Regions from separate parts of the Homo sapiens genome. Here all the other regions are linked to region 1. The links are contacts of gene promoters, found by promoter capture Hi-C in blood cells and fetal thymus (Javierre and others, 2016). All regions are on one chromosome and are shown on one strand. The core of a region is centred on a gene start or on the middle of the fragment in contact, and the rest is flanking DNA. Distances in the headings are between cores, read along the strand shown.

The links. Contacts are between HindIII fragments. The CHiCAGO score rates a contact against its expected background, and 5 or more counts as called.
Region 2: a fragment that was not itself captured here is called in contact with the fragment with the promoter of RBM26 in region 1 in 6 of 17 cell types (non-activated CD4 T cells, total CD4 T cells, naive CD8 T cells and 3 more); the score reaches 13.7 in non-activated CD4 T cells.
Region 3: a fragment that was not itself captured here is called in contact with the fragment with the promoter of RBM26 in region 1 in 1 of 17 cell types (total B cells); the score reaches 5.4 in total B cells.
Region 4: a contact is called between a fragment that was not itself captured here and the fragment with the promoter of RBM26 in region 1, in 1 of 17 cell types (total CD4 T cells). The highest score is 9.7, in total CD4 T cells.

The regions. Positions count from the first base shown.
Region 1 is chr13:79,402,289-79,408,224 of GRCh38, forward strand. RBM26 (RNA binding motif protein 26) reads right to left here and starts at 3,967. Exons shown (of 22, transcript NM_001366735.2): 1 at 3,416-3,967. The coding sequence starts at 3,486. RBM26-AS1 (RBM26 antisense RNA 1) reads left to right here and starts at 4,021. Exons shown (of 7, transcript NR_038991.1): 1 at 4,021-4,189. RefSeq lists a silencer at 3,523-3,722 and enhancers at 3,632-4,623, 3,953-4,252. The HindIII fragment of the contact is 7,810 bases long and covers 1-5,480 here.
Region 2 is chr13:77,329,757-77,335,759 of GRCh38, forward strand. No RefSeq gene overlaps it. Among named protein-coding and RNA genes, the nearest start is that of MYCBP2, 5.7 kb to the left of the region's middle. The HindIII fragment of the contact is 3,671 bases long and covers 787-4,457 here.
Region 3 is chr13:77,186,646-77,192,545 of GRCh38, forward strand. MYCBP2 (MYC binding protein 2) reads right to left here. Exons shown (of 83, transcript NM_015057.5): 28 at 5,034-5,168; 29 at 3,607-3,690; 30 at 2,306-2,402. Among named protein-coding and RNA genes, the nearest start is that of MYCBP2-AS2, 110 kb to the left of the region's middle. The HindIII fragment of the contact is 629 bases long and covers 4,017-4,645 here.
Region 4 is chr13:77,216,932-77,223,175 of GRCh38, forward strand. MYCBP2 (MYC binding protein 2) reads right to left here. Exons shown (of 83, transcript NM_015057.5): 21 at 909-1,026. Among named protein-coding and RNA genes, the nearest start is that of MYCBP2, 110 kb to the right of the region's middle. The HindIII fragment of the contact is 3,364 bases long and covers 402-3,765 here.

The DNA.
Region 1 (5,936 bases), core at 2,717-5,216:
AGTTCAAAATTCTCAATTTATGAAAAAGACATTGAAAATTATTTTCAATAATTTATGAAACTCAGAACCCTGATACATGTACAGAAGTTATGAAACAGTAAATACAGATATGCAGACTTCTATTTCACGCTGAAAACACAGCCAGGCTTTTTTTTTTTTTTTTAAACATCCATCTGAAAACCCTCTTGCCCTAAAACCCTTCACTGGCTTCCCACTATCCTTCAATAACATCCAAAGTCTTAAACATGACTCAACAAAGTCCTGTGTGATCTGGCTCCTATCTCTGGAGCTTTCCACTGCCATTCTTCTCCTTTGCTTTTTTCTATTTCTTTCAATTCCTCCAACATATCTTTTTTGTCCATTTTTAGGACCTCCATACAATCTGTTCACCAAACCTATAACGCTTTCACAGGTCTCCAATCCCATCCTTTTGCCCCAGCAAAGTATTCTTCATCCTTCCAAGCTGAGATAAACATTACACCAGGGAAGTGTTTCCTGATGTTCCCAGACTTCAACACCTATCTTTCCTGCTAAATGGTAAATAAAATGAAGTGAGTCATTTCATGTCTTGTTACCTACTATATCTTGCACACTGCTTAGCACAGAGTAGGTTAAGTACTCTTAAAATAAATGTTTGCTGAATTAACACATTCAAAATGTGGAGTAAGTCCAAAACCATGAAGTATTTAACCACCACAGGTAACTAAAAAGTTTTATGTAAGTTTCAAGTTACAGCTTACCCTTGGTCCTCTGTATGTTCCTCTCTCAAACAGAGGTCGTTTGGTAATTACAATGTTAAAGCAAAAAAAAAAAAAAATTCCTTTTAGATAACAGATCATAACATTTCACAAAACCAACGTTAGAAACCACTGATCCATAATTGGGATCAGCTTTTATAAGTCATCATACAAAAGAATCCACCTGAAATGCAATTAAAAGGACAAGAACTTGAATAAGGGCTCAATTTTACCACAGCTACACACATTAGAAAAGGACCAATTACAATTCCCAGTGTCTAGGCTCTACTAGCAGAGCCTTATTTATTACAACATAATGACTGCAGTGCTACAGCCATCGAGAGTAGGCTTTATGATACATGGAATATGTTTCATTAAGACTAAAGAAAAATTACAAGCATACACTCTAAGTAGCTACAGTCTTCTCATTTAGGTAAGATGGAGGGATACGGCAGTAAATCTAATATGAAACTGAACGCTTAAAGGAAAGCTATTTCAATCCAAAACATTTATAAGTTTTGTATTCACCTAATAACTACTGAATGCTAATTACACACCAGACAGTAGTCTAAGATTTCCTTAATATACACCCATTATTTTCCCAATTTTACAGTTGAGGAAATGGAAGCCCTGAGTTAAGTAACTTACCCAATATCATACAGCTGGTAAGTGGCAGAGGCAGAATTCAAAGCCAGACATTCTGCTCCAGAGTTCTCCTCACCGCTATACTATGATGCCCACTCTCCAATACACCGAAATAGGACTTCCATCTGCACAACTCTACTCCAGTGAAACTATTTTGCTAAGGTTACCAATGACTTCCACTTTGCTAAATCTAAGGGCTACCTATTTGCCTCCATTTTTTCATGCATTCTGCAGCATTTCATAAACTCCTCTCTTTTGCCATACACTTGTTTTTTAATGACATAAAGCCCAGTTTTCCTCCTGCCTCAGTACTAGGCCCTCTTCTCTTCCCTACCTACACACTTTTTCTATGAAATTTCCCACAATGTCATCGTCTTAAATACTATCTGCATGACTCCAGATTTCTCCAGTCCTGTCCTGAGTTTTAGACTCATATATTCAATGATCTGCTATCACACTTAGCTGTATCCCACAGACTTCATACTTACTGTATTTATTATTATCAAAACTAGCCATCCACTTTCCTTCTCCCCTTAACCTGTTCTCTGCCTTCTCTAATATCACCCATTCTGTTGCTTGGGTTATCTAAGGCACCACCCTTGATTTCCCTTTCCCTCATCTCCCGCATTTAATCCATTAATTTTACTTATGAAATGTATTTGGATCTGCCTGTCTCCACCATCACTCTAATGCAAACTAGCCACATCTCTGCCTACAACACACTTCTGAATAATCTTCTTACTTCCATTCTTGCCCTTTCAGTCTCTACAAAATAGGCAGAGTTAAAACAAAATTAAATCAGTCCTTGTCTGCTTTAAATCATCTCACGTCTTCCCATACATGATGTGGCCCCTACCTACTTGTCCAACTTGTTGCCTTTATATCCTCTCCCTCATCACAAGGCTCTTTCCAGCCACAGTGGCCTTTCTCTTCCTGAAACACACCACAATCACTTCTGCTACAGGGCCTTTCATTTGCTCTTCCTTTTGCAAGGAATGTTCTTTTCCAAGACTTTGACACACATGGTCCCTTCTCTTTAGATGTTACTCCAATGTCACCTTCTCTGAGAGTCCTTCCTTGACCAATGTGAAATAGCCCCCCTCATAATCACTTTTACATGATTCTCTATTATTACAATAGTCACAACTCTATTAATATCTGGATTTATTTATGTCTTGTCGATTTTAGAATTTAAAAGCTCTATCCCCAAAGCCTCCCGTAGTATACAGTAGGTACCTAATAACTTTATTAAATACGTGAATTTTCCCCATTGCATTATTGTAAATCAACCAATTCTGATTAAGCACTTTGGTCCATGTCATATTTTGTATTAACAAGTCGTCAAAACACTCCTTAAATTTTCCAATCTAAGACTATTTCAGCACTCTAACCGCAGCCCCCAACACAAAATCTATCTATAGCATCCCACTTAAAACTGCTAAATATTCCATATGGATGAAGATTCAATTTTCTTCCTCCTCTCCAAGCTAACGAACGCGTAGGCGGGAAAGGGGAATTTTACTGGCCACCTCAGCACCTGTTACATCTTCAATCAGTGAAGAGAGGTGCAGATGAGCCAGACAGCACATGGGAGACGTGGCCTTGCTTTCAGGAATTATATTTAGGTGAAACGTGAGTGATTTAAGCTAGAACTGCCCGAATCCCCAATAAAGGCCGTCTACTTCATTTAGAAAAACAAGGTAAAATAATCTGTAGGAAGTAAAATACAGTCGGTTTCACTAAAATAAACCGATTTTGAGGCCCCCGGAAAATATTGCGGGTGGGGGTTGGAGACGGTCTATATATAACGGGAAAACGAGAGCAGCTCAGCAATAAAATAAAGCTCGACTCAGGCTCTCGGGGGTATCCTGAATCTGGAAGCGAGGTGGACGAGGAGGAGAAGCCACAGAACCCTGGGACCTCCGTTCACCGCTTCGGCCTCCACCGCAGGCACTTGGGGAAACTGCACAGATCTCTGGGTCCGCCTATCTCCCACTGCCATCCCTGCAAAGAGATATCCCCCGGATACTCACATGGGCTCGAGAGTCTTGCTGAGCCAGGACTTGAGTGCCTCGAAGTTTTCAATGATCATTTTAGAAACCATCCACAGCGGCCCTAAGGCCCGTCACACTCCTCCGCCCGCCCAGGTCGCGGCCGCTACAGCCGCCGCTGCCCCCGCCCCCTCCTCCGCGCGCCGCCCGCGTGGGCCGCGGTGGGAGGCGCCGGTGGCAGGTTCCCGCGGGCCCCGGTCGGCGAACAGCTCTGCAAGGACCGCCGCAGGCCACAAGTGCACGGGGTGCCAGGAGCTCCCCGTCCCCGGCCCCCAGCCCGGGCTGAAACAGCAACGGTTTGCCCGGGCCCTCCCCCTTCCCTCTTCCCCAGCAAATCTACCCAGACCGGAAGCGCGACACGCGCTTAGACCCGAGCCTTCTCTCAGCCTCGGGACCAGGTGCTTGTTGGCTACGTCGAAAAGGCAAAAGTAAAGAAAGCGAAGGCGAAGGGCAGCTCAATGGGAACGATTCAGGGGGTCTTCCCGGCTCCCAGCACCCCCAAGAAGATGGCTGCCGGTAAATCTCGCGAGAATTGATGAAGTCTCGCGGTGGCTCCCGGAGCCTGCTGGGAGAGACGTAAGGTCGGCGGAGAATGCGCGGGTCGAGTGCTGTAGTTCGATTTTTGCGTGTGTGCGTTGCTTGCGGCCTTTGTGCCTTTTTATTCTTTGCTTACCTTTATGATATAAAGACCTTATTTCTTACAAGGAGGAAAAGACCGCTGACTTCAGAAACAGCGGGAACCCCAGCTCGTCCCCGGTAAGACGGCCGTGGCCTGTCAGCTGGAACGGTCCTGCCGGATGGATCGCTCTTTGAGAGCGTACACTCCCGCGTGCGCGACACCAGGCGGCCCGTAGGTTCCAGGTGCCGAGCACACTACCTCCTCAGTTTACCTAAGTGCCCTACCAGTATCATATTCTGTGTATGCTGTGATGTGAACGAGGTTTGTAAACACAGGCTGGTCTAATGGAGCCCAATGAGACCGCCAGAGGATTAGTGTCTTGTCCAACAGTACTTGACTTGCTGGTAGAGCCCTAATGACTGAGGGCTGCCCACAAGGGAAAGGTGAGAGAACCTTCACGTCTCTCAGGTAGTTTCCAGCCTGCACTTTCCCCCAGCTAAAGATAAGTTTTGTTATTTTTAAAATTCTCTTTATTTAGAGCAAATTCAGCCCTATCTCAGATCGGGAAATTATATAGTATCAAAAGAGAGAGTCTTCATATTAGCAACCCAAATAAATAAACTATTTTCCTGGGTGATCAAATAAGTTTGATTCCTGCTTGAGTTCTATTTAGATACTAGGTGGAATTTTACAAAGGGTCTACGTTCCATGAACTGTAATGGAATGAAAATATTCACAATCTAAAGACATTTTCAGTAAGTAGATCAATAAAAGCTCTTTATGAGAGACACCGATAGGCTAAATTGTTCTTAGGAACTCTTGAGTTTATAATTTGCTAGAGTGAAGTGTCTTTAAGGATTAGGTGGAAAGATTATGAACTACAAAGCAAGACATTTGTTTTAAAATACAGCATATAGAGTAGAATACAAATTAGAATCCAGCTACTGAATAACCAGGGTGTTGATTAAAGTGATTTAGCTGAGTGAAATAAACCAGACATGAAAGGACAAATATTATGATTCCACTTACATTAAGTACCTAGAGTAGTCAAAACTCCTAGAGACAGAAGGTGGAATGGTAGCAAGAGCAGGGGTGGAGAGGGTGCCCAGGAGAAGGGGAAATGAGGAGTTATATTTCAGTGGATAATAGAGTTTCAGTTTAGGATGATTTAGATTCTGGAGATGAGTGGTGTTGTGTGGGTTGCACAATATGAATGTACTTAATGCAGTGGACCATATACTTAATGAAAACGGTAGGTTTTATATGTATTTTACAATAAAAATTGTTTATAAATTTAATACTGCCGAAAGTTAAAATTATATTTGTTTAGTCTGTTTGTTGTAGCCTTGCCACAGGCTGACGCCACCAATATTTTCAACCTTATCACCAGCTACTCCATTACTCTGGCTCTCCACTTCAGCCTTCCAAAGCTTCTATCAAATACTGTATACCCCAGATAAACTGATTTGCTCACCCTCCCTTTCTCCAAACATTTGTTCACTTTATTTTCCACAGAGAACGCTTCTACTTCTTTCCCTGACTGCTCAAACTTTGCCCATCCATCTCTCATACCACTGTCACTGTCTTATTTAAAGTCTTTTATTCTTCCTAAATAATAGCAAAAGCCTTTTAATATCTTTGCCTTTTATGCTGACCTCCATCTCAGTTCATCTTCAGTTGCCCTCATCATCATTGCCTTTAATAGCAGTAATTCTAAAATTTTGATCTAATCATGTCACTTTCTTGCTTAAAATCTTCAACTTCCACATTATCTTTAGAATAAAACACATTATTTAACATCCTATAAAGGGACTTTCATAAATCAGACACCTTCCTTTTTGCCTAGAAACTCCTTTCAGTCTTTGCTCCAGCCATCCTAAACTA
Region 2 (6,003 bases), core at 1,372-3,871, 2.1 Mb before region 1:
AAGAGGGGGACCTATACAGAATGAAAAAACACAGAGGGCTTTGCTTTTCTTTCCCCACCCCACCGAGCTCGGCCCCCGTGCTTTCTGCGCTGCCATCTTAGTTCCTCCAGCGGCCGGGCTGGGCGTGTGTGCATTTGTGTGTACAGGGAGGGCTGCAGCCGGGGGGCGTGGGGGCCGCCTGGGCGGCTTGGGTGTCGGAATGGGCTAGACAGCAGTTCACCCACGACACATTCGCCCTCAAAGAATAGCATTGAACTACGGCAAATCCTGCCTGTGCCCATTTTATTACGGGCGTAGTATGTTTTATTCTTTGTGGTTGGTATGCTCATTTCGCAAAAGAGATCTCTCTGTCCTGTGCCCATGTAATAAGACTATGGCTTCATCTTTCCCCTTGTGATCACAGATTTAGTCGTTCTTTTCCACTTAACATTGCAAACCTGGACCACAGTTTTTTGAACTCTTATCACATTTACATTTTTCCTACTCTCATCTTTAACGATTTTGTTTTTAAAGGAAGCTACCCGTGCTGATGTAGTAAATAACAGGGCAGGAACCATAACGTGTATATAAGAGGACAGATTAGTGTTGTTTCATTTAAAGGGTTAATATTGTACTAAAGCTACAAGACTACAAACACAGGAAGTATGTATATTATTAGGTACATCGAGACTGCTGAAAATGCTGTGGTAAAGTCTGCGTTTGTTTCCTGGATTTGTACAACAATGTATTGGGGAATTTAAAAACAAAATTGGTAGCTGAGAACAATTTGGGAAAAAAAAAAGAAAAAGCTTAGGCTTGAAGAGTGAAGACATGCTTTACTCTTCAGTGACCTTCTCTTTTTAAGGGTAATAAGATAGTGCATTCTTGACAAATATATTGCACTTTAAAATAAAGTATATTTCATAGAATATATTTAGTACTCCAAGCTGAAGGGAAAAATTCAACATGGCTATCGAAATTATTTTAAACATAAATTACATATTGCATCCCCTGGCTATCTTAACCTCATGCTTTAAACAACTATATTTTTAGGGCCTTGGGATATTCAGTAACTTGTAAGCATGATGAGTTAATGTTTTTCTTTTTTATTCATGGTAGTTTTAAAAGATGTAAATTATATGTCCAAGTTTTCCCACATCCAAAAATTTAGGTTCCAGGGATCCTAAGTTATATATTGACATATATTGACATTTTCATCCGTGAAAAATTATCCTAAAATATATTAGTATATGTTTTTTAAGTATGTGAATTCAATACTATATATCTGAATGCAAATCACATTCTTTCAAAATCTCATTGTTGTGATGCATTTAGCCTAGAGGATGTTTTCACAACTGATGTAGAAAGTTATATAAAGTATAATTGTCCTAAAAACAGAAAGTTTAAAACTATAGCATTTCAACCTTGAAAACTTTAGTATAGTTTATAAGTTATTAGATTAATCTTTTTTAAATTTTGTTATTACTTTAAAATTTTTTTGTGGGTACATAGAAGGTGTATATATTTATAGGATGCATGAGATATTTTGATACAGGCATGCAATGTGAAATAAGCACATGATGGAGAATAAGGTATCCATCCCCTCAAGCATTTATCTTTTGAGTTACAAACAATCCAGTTACATTCTTTCAGTTATTTTAAAATACACAATTAAGTTATTATTGACTATAGTCACCCTATTATGCTATCAAATAGTAGGTCTTATTCATTCTTTCTGATTTTTTTTTTTTGTACCCATTAACCATCCCCATCTCCCCTCCCCAAACTCCTCATGACTCTTCCCAGCTTCTGGTAACCATCCTACTCTCTATGTCCATAAGTTCAATTGTTTTGATTTTTAGATCCCACAAGCGAGTGAGAACATGTGATGTTTGTCTTTCTGTGTCTGGCTTATTTCACTTAACATAATGATCTGTAGTTCAGTCCATGCTATTGTAAATGACTGGATCTCATTCTTTTTATGGTTGAATAGTACTCCATTGTGTATGTGTGTACCACGTTTTCTTTATCCCTTTATAGGGTGATGGACACTTACATCAATAAGTTTGCTTCCAAATCTTGGCCATTGTAAACAGTGCTGCAACAAACAGGAGCGCAGACATCTCTTCTATATACTGATTTTCTTTCCTTTGGGTATATACCCAGCAGTGGGATTGCTGGGTCATATGGTAGCTCAATTTTAAGTTTTTTGAGGAACCTCCAAACTGTTCTTAATAGTGGTTGTACTTATTTACATTCCCACCAACAGTGTTCAAGTGTTCCCTTTTCTCCACATCCTCGCCAACATTTGTTATTGCCTGTCTTTTGGATAGAAACCATTTTCTTTGTTGTTGTTTGTTTGTTTTTTGAGACAGTCTCACTCTGTCACCCAGGCTGGACTGCAGTGGCATGATCTCAGCTCACTGCAACCTCCGCCTCCCGGGTTCAAGCGATTCTTGTGCCTCAGCCTGCCAAGTAGCTGGGATTACAGGCACGCACTGCCGCACCTGGCTAATTTTTGTATTTTTAGTAGAGACGGGGTTTCACCATGTTGGCCAGGCTGGTCTCAAACTTCTGACCTCAGGTGATCCGCCCCCTCTTGGCCTCCCAAAGTGCTAGGATTAGAGGCGTGAGCCACCGCGCCTGGCCATAAGCCATTTTTAACTGGCGTGATATTAGATTGATCTTTATTACTAAAATTAAATAGTAAGAGGATAATTGAAATTCTCATGTAGAATAGCAACTATGTCATATTAATGTTTCTTTTAAATATATTTAATAGGGTTATTGCCAAATCCAGATAACCTGATATAACTAAATGGCTCTAAAATGACTATATTAGTCATGGTCTTTTTTTTCAAAGACTTTTACCTCTTTCATGCTACATCTTCTCATCAGTAAAGTGAATAATAATAGCACCTACTTCATTAGATTATTTGAGGGTTAAATTAAATAATCTGTATGACTTACTTGCTTAACATACTACATAGCAGGCCATAGCTATTATTGTCAATATTATGTTAATATATTAATGATCCCTTATTTGAGGGATGTCCTAATCTTGTGCTAGAAGTAACAAAACAGTTATACAATTTGAGTTATATAGATTAGGATTTGAAAGTTGGTTTTCTTGTTGTTTTCTTAACAAAGAGTCCTGTCCACAAATAAAGATTTACTGTGTCTTGACATGACAGGAAGAATAGAATCCAAAGACAATAGTTGTTTCCCTAAAATACCCATTCTTGTATAATTTGTTAACTCACAAAACACATTGCCTACCTTCATAAATTCAATAAGTGTTTTGAATTTTTACTGATGGATACATTTCGACATGTAACAGCCAAAACAGACTATAGTTTCTTCTCAAAAGGCTAGTAGCTATGGTATCTCTCCAGATTCAAAAACTATAAATCATCTATAATTTACATTTTCTGTAGGTTAATCTGAATTTAACATCAAAATCTTGACCTTGCCTAGTTTGGCTTCCTATTTTGATGAATATTTCTACATTTATATTTAGAAAGTAAAAAGGAGCCAATTTACCAGTTCTTCATAAAAAATTTTTCTTAAGAATATTTTGCCTCTTTTTTGATATCATATCAGGTTTGCCTTCAAACTAGACCGGAAGCTATTTTAAAAGTTTTTAGAACATAAAAGTCATAAAAAATATTTCACAGTCTTCCTAAATTAACTTGTGGTGACAGAATTTTCTTGGATAGACAAAATAATCTTACCTATTTGATGCCAAATTGTTGTGAACTGAATTAATTACTAATTTTTGTGGTGCAGCAAAGACAACACTGCTTGCAGAGAAAAACTGTGGCATCCCTGCAGGTACTTCTAAAGTCTACCTCAGTGTTGGTGGGGTGGTGTGCCAGGAATCTGCTTATTTGCTCTTGAGTCCATTCCTGTCCATTCTCCTGCTCTGCTCTGTACAGCAGGGGAAGGATCCCTGCAAATTCCATTTGTCAGGCTTCCCTTGCCAGCTAGTTTCAAATTAGCTTCAGCCTGGGGGCAAAATGGGTGACTGGCAAGTAGGCAGCAGGAGAATCAATTTCTCTCTCTCTCTCTCCCGGCACCCCACCCCCGCCAACTTTAGGCAACATCTCCTCTGTGGTTCCAGCTCCTGCTGAACAGCTTCTCCTTCCATGGTCCAGCTGCAATTAGGTAACCTCTCGTAAAGCCAGTTCTCACTGAGCAGCCCCAGCTTGTGGACCCTGGTAGCAGCGTTTTCTCCTTGGTGTCTCCAGCCCTAGGGATTGTAGATATCTCTGTCCCTTGTTTGGCTTTTCTATTCCTAGAGTAGCATTGCAATTAGTTCCCCATATTCAATTCTCTCTCTTAATGACCTGGCATGCATTTATCTGTTTTCCTGATTGGACCCTGAATGGTACAGATGGTCTTCCATCCAAATAATAAACCTGATTTGGTTTCTCAGCCAAAGGATGGCATTTTATCATCTTTCATCTGGTCTTGAAAGCTTGCGGATCTGACATCAAGCAGCAAAACAGAAATCTGCTTTGAAAATATTAGTTGGCTCACTCACACCCATTCTAAATCCCCTTCTTCCTTGCCTGCCTCCATTCTGGATGCCGGAAAAAGTGAAATATTTTCTCTGTGAGTCTGTCCTGCACCTAGAGTTGGCATCGTGACACAATTCAGGACAGCACAGTGAGGGAAAATCTGCTAGTACTACTTCTCTCTCTCTCCCTTTCTTTCTACCTAAAAGATGGACAGAATGGCTGATGTTCATAGCCATGAGACAAGAGGCATGAGATAAGGCCAAGAGCATCATAAATATTGACCCTGACATCATAGAACCATTGAACAAAGTTTCAAACTTATTTTTATACAAGGTAAAAATCAAATTCCTAATTGTCTCAGCTACTGTTGATGAAGTATTCTGTTGCTTGCAGCCAAAGCATTCTACCTGATATACCAACTCTAGCATCTTCTCAGGACACATTCCCTATCTAGAATCTATCAGTAATCTGTCCGAATGAAATATGTATTTATGGAAAATACTTAAAAGCATAAAAACCCATTCATTCCCCTGGGTCCTAAATTTTCTTCCTTTAATCAAGTCAAAACATCAGAAAGTTCACTGAACTGTATTTTATATGATGCCTTTGGATTTTATTAAAGATTACTATAGTGTGCCTCCCAGATACCCCTTCAGGTATGAGGCTCTTATTCCCCAGCTGTTGAGAGTGTTGACTGCTGGCTGCTCAAAGCTAAACCCCTGCCCATAAGTTGCTCTTGGCCTTGGGGAACTGCCTTATGCCAGGTTACAACCCCTCTCCAGAGGGTGCCTGCATCAAATAACTGGTCAAAGTGATATACAAAGACAAGGCACTCTTACCTTAATTCAGAATGATTTTGAAGAGCCATTCCAGCTCTTAGAACTCTGTGCAATTAGCTAAGGCCTCTGTTGCAGTTACATTACAGTTCCATTTTTCTCTCTCAACCAATCCTGCTTTTCTCACTCATTCACTAGTAGTATTGTCAGAACTCCACAATAAACTTCTTGTATGCCAGTCTACATCTGTTTCCCAATCTCTTTCCCAGGGAGCCCAACTTAATTCAGTTGTAAGGGGAGTGGTCTGAAGAACCAGAGTCTGAAATGGAATTTTGGAGCTGGATTATCCACTGGTTAGGTGGCAGTGAGGGCCCCCTGTAATGGACAGTTTCTAAGGTGACCTCGTCATGATCTCTATATCCTAATATCTCTGTTTTTGTATAAACTTTTCCTCTTGTGTGTGGGTAGGACCTGCAAATTCCTCCTAAACAATAGAATATGGCAAAAGTGACAGGATGTACTTGATTATATTTATGTAATTGAGTTGCATACTACTGTAACTATGTTGCTGGGACCATCTCTCCCTTAGTGGCTTTGAAGAAGCAAGTTGGCATTTTGTAAGCCATCACACAGAGAGGTTCATATGATAAAGGGGTTAATGGTAGCTTCTGACCAACAGCCAAAGAGGAACTGAGTCCTCAGCCTGGCAGCCTGCAAGGAATTGA
Region 3 (5,900 bases), core at 3,081-5,580, 2.2 Mb before region 1:
ATATGAGTTTAAGATGGTAGATTTTCTTTGCAGTTCTAGTCTTCTGGTTTTATCATGGTTAAATGACAACAGATACCACCTGAATCTCAAAGCAGAGCACTTACTGCCCCATTCCCACCAAATCCCAGAGCTCCTGAAAACGAGTTTATAGATTCAATTTTTTTTTTTTTTTTTTTTTGAGATAGAGTCTTCCTCTATCACCCAGACTGGAATGCAATGGTGTGATCACGGGTCACTGCAACCTCAACCTCCTGGACTCAAGCTATCCTCTCACCACCCCCTCAGCCTCCCAAGCAGCTGGGACTACAAGTGCGCACCACCATACCCAGCTAATTTTTAAGTTTTTTTAGATGGGGGTTTCACTATATTGCCCTGGCTGGTCTTGAACTCCTGAGCTCAAGCAATCCTCCTGCCTCGGCCTCCAAAAGTGCTGGGATTATAGGCGTGAGCCAATGTGCTAAGCCCTATAGTTTACCTTTTAAAGAAATGACTGAATAAGTTTTGTATATAAAGTCTACAATTACCTAATGGCCACAAAACCACTTAAACATAAATACAAAGGGGTTACCAAGCACAGAAAAGTGAGATCACTAAAGAAAGCATAACAGAGTCAAAGATCCTTATTTGAATCAAAAGATACCAAACTCAACTTAAGACTAATAGGATGCAAAGTTACCAAGAAGCCAAAGTTCTCATAGTCTTTTATTCAAAGCACAAGCTCTACAAACTGCCATGGCTCTTTTGGAAGGTCAACTTTGAGAGGATATACCAAACTTTAAATGGGCATATTTCCAGTAGAAGTATGCACATAAGTACACAAGTATTTAAAGATGTATGTGTATAGATGCTCATGAAGCAAGATGAAATAACAAAAAATGAGAATCAAAGTGGTTCTTTGATAGATATCAGATTGAATAAATTAGAATAATGGTACGCAAACGGAGAAGACTGACAGAGCCAAATGTACTGCCAGGGAAGGATGTCCATGATATATAATACGAAATTTTCTAAAAAAGATGAAAACTGTAAGTATCGTAAGAAACAAGCAAGCATGTTGTAGAGCATCCTGTATTTGATACGTACTAATAAGTTTTTTTGCATATAAAAATGGTCTGGGAAGGCCGGGTGCGGTGGCTCACACCTGTAATCCCAGCACTTTGGGAGGCCGAGGCGGGTGGGTCATGAGGTCAGGGGTTCGAGACCAGCCTGTTCGAGGTCAGGGGTTCGAGACCACCACCAACATGGTGAAACCCCCTCTCTACTAAAAATACAAAAATTAGCTGGGCGTGGTGGCAGGCGCCTGTAATCCCAGCTACTCAGGAGGCTGAGGCAGGAGAATTGCTTGAACTCAGGACGCGGAGGTTGCAGTGAGCCAAGATCGTGCCACTGCACTCCAGCCTGGGCGACAGAGCGAGACTCTGCCTCACCAAAAAAAAAAAAAAAAAAAGGTCTGGGAAGATACACACCAAAATGTAAATAGTAGGTATATATGGTGATCATGAGAATGGGAGAAAAATCTTTCATATACTTTTAGGATACTTTTATCTCATTCCTACCAGGAATATATATTCACTTGGTGGGTTGAAAAATAAATTTAAAAGGGAAAGAAACATTCTTCCTATGCATTTTACTAATATGAAAGACTACTAGCTATATTAATAAATCACATTCAGATGGTGCCTTACAGTTCCAAAAACATCTTACACCCCTTATCTCATTAGAAATTCAAAATGCTATGATGTAATTTACTTAGGTAACATACGTAAGAATCCTCAATTAATACATGAGAGATCAAGACCTTAATTTATACTTTCATTTATTTACATCATGTTGACTTTCCATTCTGCACTGTTAACCTCAATGGCACTGTGCTTCTTCATGTGTACAATGGGGATGGCAAGTGGTTCAACAAACTTCCTAGTTAGATATGCAACTCTTCCACCTAGTTCCTCAAGTAGTAATCACGCTTTTTTGGGCCAGCACCATCCTTAACTTTTCCTTCATTTTCTAATTCATTCAGCATATGCATTCATATATGATTTACTAGAAAAGCAAATCGTTATTTGTTTCAAAAACAGCAAGGCCAATTCATCTGGTCATGTTAAAATCATAGGCCAACACCTCCATTTTTCTATGATTTAAAGTATACTTTATCTGTGGTCTAGAATATAAATGTGAATACAAAACCAAATCTGAGTTTATAAATCTAGGCTAAGATAAACTTACAAGAGCAGCTAAACTCTAAACATCAAAATGTATCTGAGGACTGAAGAGAAAAGCTGAAATTTTTTAAAACATGGCTTACCACTGAGACAGTTCTTGCAAAAGACCTCTTTAAAATGTGTACAGGTTCACTGGTTTGCTGTTTGCCTTTTGAAGCACTGCCATCACTGGTTGGAAGTCTAAAGGCAGTAGACACATATAAAATTATGTTAGAAAGTCCAATGTCATTTTTTCTTTTTAAAGTATATTATACATTTTTGAATGGGAAAATAAATTATATATTTAAATTTTTTTGCCAGGTAATGCCAATACAGGGCTTTTTTGAAACATTTTTCCAAGCTAAACAAAGTTTTTAGCATATGGGCACTTCCTTTAAATCCTACCTTCGCAAGACCGAGTAGTAGAGGCTTTTTCCTCTTCTTAGAGAACATATATAATGTATATAACATATAACTTATATTCTCTAGTAATGCTACTATTAATGCTGTTATTTAAAAGTTATTCAACCAGTGAGTACCTGGGAGTAGTCCAATGCAACACGTTATGTTTGTAGAGCTACATATTACAAACAGTAACTATAACAGATTGCACGGTGCATAAAAACCAAACAAACGAAAAAACCTTTTGGGGAAAAATAATGTTTGTAACCACAAAGTGATTACCAGAAAGAAAGATAGGGAGATAGAATCACAGTTCTAGACCATTTCCTTTGATTTTTTACTGCTTAACGAATGACAACATTTTTCAGTAACGGTTTATATCCATTTGAATTCTTTATTCTAAAAGTATTGCAGTAGTCTAGAAATAAATAAGGTAAACACAGGCATATGCCTTTATACATGCTTAAATTATTGTAAGTTAAAATTTTTCAATAATGTTAAAAATATAGTAAATATTATATGAGCAAGTTATTATTTGGTATTTTAGCTAAAGGTGAAAATTTACCAACAGTAGGGAATTTTCCAACTCATTTTATCAGTCTTATGAGACTACAATATATCAACCAGGCCTGCATCTATAGTCCTCCCCATCTTCCCTGCAATCTCACTTCTCCAAGACAAATTTTATTCTTTTACAACATTTGAAATTAGTAAGAAAATCAATGGATAGATTTTTTTTAAAGTCAGTAAAATATTGTTATTGGTATAATACAGATAATCTGAGTAATCAGGCAAAGTTTAAAGTTAAGCCTGTATGGAAAATGTTTAAAAATATACAAAATATTAACTGTTTTTGTTAAATATATTTATAGTTCTACCAGCATATTATAATTTGCTGAATGCTTCAAATAATTTCTCCCTATTATGCCACGTTTTGTAATGATTCTACTTCATTATAGCAAAATAATAAACCATACTAATTCAGTATAAATATGCTAAATACCTGTATAATAACTGAGGTATCTGACCCGCATTAACATCTGTACCATTATTTGATTTCTTTGAACTCTTGAACTGGAAAACAACCCTAAGAAGAGAAAACAATGATACCAAAAACAACATGATCATTACAGGAAATAAGAAATTTAAGAAACATGTTTTCAAATCTTATGTCAATGAAAATGATTCACTCTTTTACATAAAGAAAAGCAAAAAGGTATTTTCTAGATTTTCATTCTAGCTCTGAATGGGTTAGTCAGTAAAATGAAAGAACTGAACGTGATTAGGACTCCTAAATGAGTAGCTGTCCTGTCCCTCCTAGCTCTCCAACTCAGCTTTAACCACAGCAGTAAACTTCTAAAATTTCTACTTACAACTAAGTAGTATAATATCTGCTTGACTAGCTGCATGATAAGCTTTAGCCTCAGTGTGCCATGACATTCCAAGTCTGAATGAACTGTCTATGAAAATCATACAGTCCAGGGTCAAAGTAGTCACTTAGTTCTAAAGACATTCTTAAGTTGATGCACATAACAACAGATGTGATTTTTCTACAGTAGTCTCCTTGAATATTCAGCAACAGGAAATTCACCTCACAAATAAGTCTATTTCTTTTTTTGGTCAGCTTTGTTATGAATTGACCTGCACTGGAATATATACTGTTATATAACTTCAACTGATTTCAAATAGTTTATGCTCAGGAGTAATCAAGAATAAACTGAATTTATCTTACAAATGATAGTCCTTTAGAATACATAAATCATAGTAATAGAATATTGAAATGTTGGATTTAGAGTCAACAGGTTACAGGTCTGACCTTGGTTTTAACCACATGACTCTCAGGAAATAGCAAATAATTTCACCTTTTTATTTCTCTAGTCCCTGGAGTATAAAATGGGGCTAATAACTGCTTCACAAAGCTATTGAGGGCATCAAATCAGATAAAATATAAGAATATGAACTGAAAAGTACTCTATACGTGAAAGTTATTTTAAAACAGCAAAATTTTCCCTATATTTTATTAAAATAACACACATTGCTGAAGCTTTGAAATTTTAAACTGTTTTCTCATGCACTATCAAATTTAATATCACATATCTACTTCTTTTTTATGGTTCCAAACTCCTCATTTTCCTTGTCACCTTCCTCTATATAATTTCTAATTTGGTAATCAAGCTCGTAAACAATGTAATACCCAGAAATATATACAAATACCATCTGACAGGAGCAAAGTACAGTGGTCTTATTATCTCCTTGTTCTGTCTAGACCTCAATTTGGCATGAGGTTACATGAATTTAATTTTTAGCAGTTATATTATGCTCTAGTCTTCCTAAGCTTTTGAATCCTGCTGAAAGTACTCTGAATTTTCAAAACAATATTCCTCTAACAAAAATAAGTATTGCTTAAGTAACACTTGGGCATTTACTTACCCATCATCTGTGGTAATAGATGCCTGTCCATGAGATCCACAGTCACTGCTGGGTCCTGACACTCGGGCCCATGCCACATACCACCACCCAGCTTGCAGGAGAACAGGCTCATCAAACATCATTGCATATTTTTCTCTGAGAAAAAATTAGTGAGTCAAAAACAATATTTTCTTACTTCTCTGTCACATATATTTATTTTTTCAAAATCCCTTGTGAACAAAAACATGAAACTAACTGTATTATAAAATTCTTATCAAACAACATTAAAAACACTCTAAGAAGTCTGGACAAGAATGCAAGCAAATATAGTTATTTATGTTATGGTGATAGAATTACATTTCTTCCTCCTCTTCTTGAATTCTACAATATCCTTAAATGTTATAAAACTTTCATATTAAAATTAGAATGTTTTAAACTGATATTAAAAAACATTCAAATTTTGCTGGAAAATAAAAATCTGAACTTTAGTTTTAAAGCTCATTCATTCAGCTAAATAGTTTTGAAAGGCAGCATATTAAGAAAATGGCCCTGGAGTCAGGCAGCCTGGGTTCAAGGCCCAGCTCTGTGACCTGCTAGCAGGGCAACGCAGGGCAAGTTACTCTATCCTCTCAGTACCTTAGCTTCTTCACCTGAAAACTGTGGTGAAAATAATATCCTGCTCATAGAGTTGTCCTTTAGAATGAATTAAGTCAGATAGGTGTTTGGAGTCTGTCACATAATATCTATACAAACATTATTAATTTAGAAGAAGAAAAAAGACAATAAATAAGGGCATCTTCTAAAGGATATAAACAAGTTACAAAGTACTAGGTAACAGAGTGGAAGGAATGTTTATTGGTTGTAGCTGGAATTGAAAGAAGAATAAAG
Region 4 (6,244 bases), core at 834-3,333, 2.2 Mb before region 1:
ATATACATACGTACACACACACATTTGTGCATACACACACACTGCGTGTGTGAGAAAGAGAACAGCCACATGTGCAATAATAAAGCAAATGCTGGATCAAAATGTTAACAATAGGTGAATCTGGTTAAAGACACTAACCAGATATTCTACACACTGTTCTTAGTTGTGCAATCTTTCTGTAAGTTTGAAACCATTTTCAAATAAAATATTTTAAGTACACATTTACAGTTTTTAAAAAATCAAAAGCTGTAAATGTCATCTCAGACACTTAGGTTCAAGAGTTCTTAGTAATTATCCACATCTGAAATGGTACAAGAGTATTAGCACAGTCTCGCAAAGATTTTTCTTGATATCTACTATGCCCAAACTACACAAAATTCTTAGAGCATTTTCACTCTTTAAGCTTTGGTGCAGAGAGAGGGAGAGAATGTGCACAAGCGCCTATGTAACAGACAGGCGGATAGACTCAGAGGGTGGAAAAGGAAAAAAGAAAGTATAATTTTAAACAAATCAAATAAAAAAAACTAGGCTTTTAAAAGGTTACAAAATAGCATAGTTCTATGTGTTAAGAAAAATTCATCTCTACAAGTTAGATGAGAAATAACCTTTCCTATGACAGAATTAGCTCTATTGAATGCTTAAAAGACTTTAATCTGAAATAAACATGTCCAATTCTAACAAAGCTGTTAAATTCAATAAATTCTAATGCTGAGCTAGAGAGGAAAATTACTTCAAAGAATATCATTCAGGTTTAGTGTGTGTTGGGGATGAAGGCATGAAATATGCATATGTAACAATTATAATATAATTGTTATATTATATTCTGGAAACAGAAAAAAGAGCTAATATAGACAAATTATAAGGCAATGGTATAATGCAATATTATTAATGTTTTAAAAATTCCTTACAGAAAAACTTCCAAATGTGAAGACCTGTCCATCCATTAAAAGTACTGCCGTATGGTTGCTGCCTGCAGTGACTTGTGTGCTAGGGCCTGGCAATGCTTGAACAAGAGTGGGACATCCCCTAGGTTAAAAAAAAAAAAAGTAAGTCAATTTCTTACAAAACTCAACTAAAATAAAAACAATAAGTAAGCAATGCAACAAGGAGTAGGAAAGATAAAAGGCACTCATAAGAATATTCAGTAAACATTTAAGTGCTAAACGCCTATCTCCATTCCAGGTACTAGGTAAACAAAGATGAAAAAGACAGTTGCTGACTTTAAGGAGATCATCAAAAAGATCTTCTAAATGTAATTACCCTAATTATAGACACATAATAATTTCTGAAAAACTGGTGCTACATTTATTTTTAATCTGGTACTCTGTATACTGACTGGCCTGTTAGAGATCTTTATAAATAATTATTGGATGAAATAAAAATCATGTAATGCCTTAACAGAAATTCAATCCAGGAACTAGATGAAATAATTTTATGATCATCTTTTCTAACTTTTATCACTAAGCTATAAGTTTAGATCTTAGAATCACAGTTAATGAGTCAAAACACAGTATCATGAGAGGCATTAGAGCAGTGACTACAAGCTCAGGCTTTAAAGCTAGACTGGCTGGTTGTGAATCCTGGCTCCCCAACTTAATAATAATGCGACCAGACTTCGAACAAGTTTTTCATTCTTTTTGTATTTCAGTTTCCTCTTTATCACATGGAGAATACTAACAAACGGTGTCTACCCCCACAGAGTTCCTGTGAACAGTAAAGAGGCCCATACGTGTCAAGTACTTGGATCAGCGTCTGGCACACAGTTAACACTTAATGAACAGTAACTATTATGATAAATGACATCCTAGTATCCTTTCCTACTTTTAACAGCCATTTTTAGTAACCATTATCTGTAATTAGAAACACAACCATTATAGAAATAGTCCACACATAGCAGGAGAGCTCTGCTTTTGAGAAATGTAATTATGACACTTTAAATTTTAAAAATTATATAGTAGTTTGGGTAATTTATGATGAAGGCCTTAACTAGGAGCAGTGCAGAGTGAAAGAGATGGTGACTTTGATAGCTATGTAAGGAACAGAATTGATGAAACTTGGCAGATGATCGATATGGGGCAAGGAAGATTTTTTTTGCTTAAGCAACAGAGTAGATAGTGGTAATATTCACTTAAGCTATGAGAATGAATGAGATCTAGGAAGACTCTTTGAGAGAGAAAAGAAGAGATCCTAATTTCCCTTATGAGTCTCTTCTAACATTTTAGATACAGACCGAGGAAGAACAGCTCACAGACATCTAGAATAAACCACACAGAAAGAAAGAACTCAAGGAGACTCATTGGAGGAGTAGGTTTCAAGCGTGGAAAATAAAGTACATGCCAAATGCTCTAAGGAGACATACACCTAACCACTCGATTTAGCAGAAGGAGGTCTCTTTGGTGGAAGCAGGCACCACAATGCAGCAGATAAGGAGTCAGAGAATACACAAAGTAGCTCTAAGTATCCCAGCACTAAAGGGAAAAAGAAAGGAGAGCCAGCAGCTAAAGGAAAAATGAAGCTGAAGGAGAGGATTTTTTTTTTTTAATGATAAGAGATTTGAGGAAGTTTAAAAGGTGACTCAAAATAAAGACGCTAAAGACAAAGGTTAGAGAGAAGACAGGAAACAGAAATAGATCTCTAAGGAAAAGACAGCTAGGTTTCATAGCAAGGACACAACAGGTTCCTCTTTAACTGTAACATGAGGAAAGAAGCAGAGAAGTGGTATGGATGGAAGTAGGTTTGCAGGGTTGGTGGGCTGAATAATTTCTTACATCTGTTGCAATGTACATGGAGATCCTATGCTAAAAGGAGGAAACAGGTGAGTGGAGAGTTTGAAGATTCGAGAAAAGGTGTGGTGGTAGATGGAATAGATACATACCGAGAGCAGGAGTTTTCAACTCAGATATAAAGGACTTCTAGGAAGTCCATGAGTGAGCTTCAAAAGATCTCCTAAATTTGCAAGCAAATTTTTAAGTGTATATTCTTGTATTTTTCATAGAGACCCCATGTCTTTCATCAAACTCTCAAAAGGTATTAAGTCAAATAGTTCAATACTACACAACAGGAGGATTAATGACCATTGTACAGGAACTGGTTGAATCTGGAAATTAAGTATCAATCTGCATAGGTATGGTGATTTCTTACCTTCCAGAAGCCTAAGTATAGGCATAGGAAATATTAAGATTGATTCATGTTTGCGGTTTTATCATGTCCTAGCACCACGACCAAGAGAGTGGGAAAACTGAAGAAACTGGTAAGAGTATAGGTGAAGAAATTAAGCAACAGTCTTTAACTTGAGTAGGAAATAAAGTTAAAAAAAGGGTGAAAAAAGAGTAAAAAAGTAGAGGGCTGTGGGGCATAAAGTCAAAGGGAAATAAAGTAGGGCTGCATCACAGAAGAAGAAAGTATCATCAGATTATGGATATTTAAACTTGAGAAACTGAGACACAAGAAGATTAAGTAACCTGGCCAAGATCATATAGCTACCAAGTGACAGAATCAGGACCCAACCTAGAGACTGAACTCAGTCATTCTGGCAATATAACACATTAAATAAAGAGAATATCAATAACACTTTTCCATCTTCATTATCATGCATACCACAATATTGATCTTAAACAACACATTATTAATGTGTGCTATATAGTAAATTCCAGTTAACAGCTCTTGATTACTAGAGACTTTTCAAACATATTCTCCAACTGTAACCCTTTATTTCAACTATCTGTAAATGTTTTGCTTTGTTGTAGTTAATACATATGCTATAGAAGCTTTGTTCCTCCCAAGATTGTTCCTCTATAGACATAATCAACTCCTTTCTGAATTAATAACAGAGTTCTTGGTTGCTACTTTCCAAGTTCCACAAAAGTCCAGACAGACAGGGTAACTGAGTGCTTAAGACTGAAGCGGTCTTGATGAATATCTAATCCACTAGGCACAGTATATAGGTATGACTACTGCATTATCCGTTGTAGCTCTGCCCACACTTCATGTAATCAGTCTTTCAGTTACCACTCAATGGAACAAGGACCAAAACATTCCATGCTGGAAAAGAACAACTTTGGGCAGTTAAAACAAATCCCACCAGTGTTTAATCTTAAGAAATTATAGTCATATGGTTGGTAAGAAGTGAAGAGCTGAACCTTGCCTCTACAGTTCCAGGTTCGATGACTATGTAGCATCTACCAGTTACTATACCACTGTGTAGATCCTACCAATGTTTAATCTTCATAAGAAACCCTGATATTTTGTTTCAACATTAAATGCTATCGTATTTCATGAAGACGATAAATTCAAGCAATTTAAAATATTGAGCATATTGCTACAATATTATTACCTGAGGAAGTCTGGCCTGAAACTGCCCTATATCTCTTCAGACTTGGGAATCGAAGAATGGTGTTCACTGGTATAATCAGGACCACGAAGTAATGTTTTTAGGTAATCTCTTCATTTTAAAAGCTGACATGAACACCTTCCCTCTCAGCGGCCAACACACCTCAGTGTGGTGTGGAAGGATGTTGTGCTCATGCTGCTCATTCTTCTGAGTGCCAAGTGCACAGTAAGATAACATAACCTGACTATAACATGGCCATGCTTTTCACTACTTCCCTTTCCACTCTGGCAAGACCATGAAATACTATTTGCCAATTATTTTCTGTGAAGTGCCCTCTTTGCTGCATACATGACTGAGACCCCATCTTATCTAACTGCAATGCACCTTTCCCAGTTTCTATGGCTCACAAAATAACCACCAGCTAAATAACAACAACAATAGCCACGATGATACAAATAAACCCTCTTCTTCTGTGTCCCAACTCTCAAATGAGAAACAGAACAAAAAGTTGCCACGTTCTTCCCCACACAGGTTATAGTCATCCCTCAGCATCCATGGGGAATTGGTTCCAGGATCCCCTGCAGCTACCAAACTCTAGGGATGCTCAAATCCCTTATATAAATTGGCATAGTATTTGTACATAAACTACACATCCTCCTGTATACTTTAAAACATCTCTAGATTACTTATAATACCTAATACAATGTAAACACCATGTTAATAGTTGTTATACTCTGTTGTTTAGGAAATAATAACAAGACAAAAACATCTGTACATGTGCAGTACAGATGCAATTATCGTAGGCCTAACTATGTTTTCTGTCAAGATTGATTGAATCCACAGATGCAGAACCCACAGGTACAGAGGGCCAACTGTAATTACTACCCAGATTCAGCCTCTGCATTTCAGTAATGTTACTCAATTGCAAAGCAAAATATCAGTTGGCATCTAACACCTGTGACAGTAATTGCTCAACACTGTTGGTATTATGTCATATCCAGCAGACACATCTGATAAAGTAATTCTGCCAAACACATCTTTTGCTCTTTGCAAGTATGATATTAGTCATTAAATATTTATGATTGTGATAGTTTTACAAACCTCTTGATAGTAGTATCAATTTTATGTTTCAGTTGTGTTTTTAATAAGAAGTTCAACTCAATGATATCTCAATCGTCTCTTATCATTAGCAACAACATTCATAAACATAACTCAGGACATTCCCTTTTGTTGCCATTTTTTATGCAGTGCCCACAGATCTGACCCTGCCTCAGCTCGAAGGGTAGAGAGTGGTTCTCATCCTGGATACATATAGAATCTGGGGACCTTTTAGAAAAAACTCTGATGCTGGCATCCTATCAAGGACCACTCCCCACCCCTGTCCCACCCACAAGCCTTTCAACACACACATCTCTCAGAAATGCTGGATGTAGAATCCACATATGATATTTTTTCAAATTCCCTAAGTAATTCTAATATACAGCCAGGGTTAAGAATCACTAATCTTTACCATGTAAATGGCAGAATTCCATCCCTGCCACAATAGTAGAGTGAGTTCAAGACACAGTGACAACCTTGAATTTTATTTAATGACTATGTGAAGGTAAGTTCTCTTTCTTTCACTGTATGTAAAGGAGAAACCATAGAAGTCCCCTTGATTCTGGCATATACACTGTGACTGCGAGGAAGAATAAGGCAGAGTAGAAGGTCAAAAGGTAAGTTTTTGCAGCTAAGTGAATTGCTGAGTGAAGTCTGGCTTGAAGCTGCTCTCTATCTTTCCAGACTTCATAAATACTCCTGTTTCCATGGTGAGACAACCACAGACACAGACCACTCAGATCTCCTTCAAGACAATCTGCTACAGAGAGCAGAGTTAACTATTATAACAGCCTCAGGTGCTGTCCCTTTGGATGC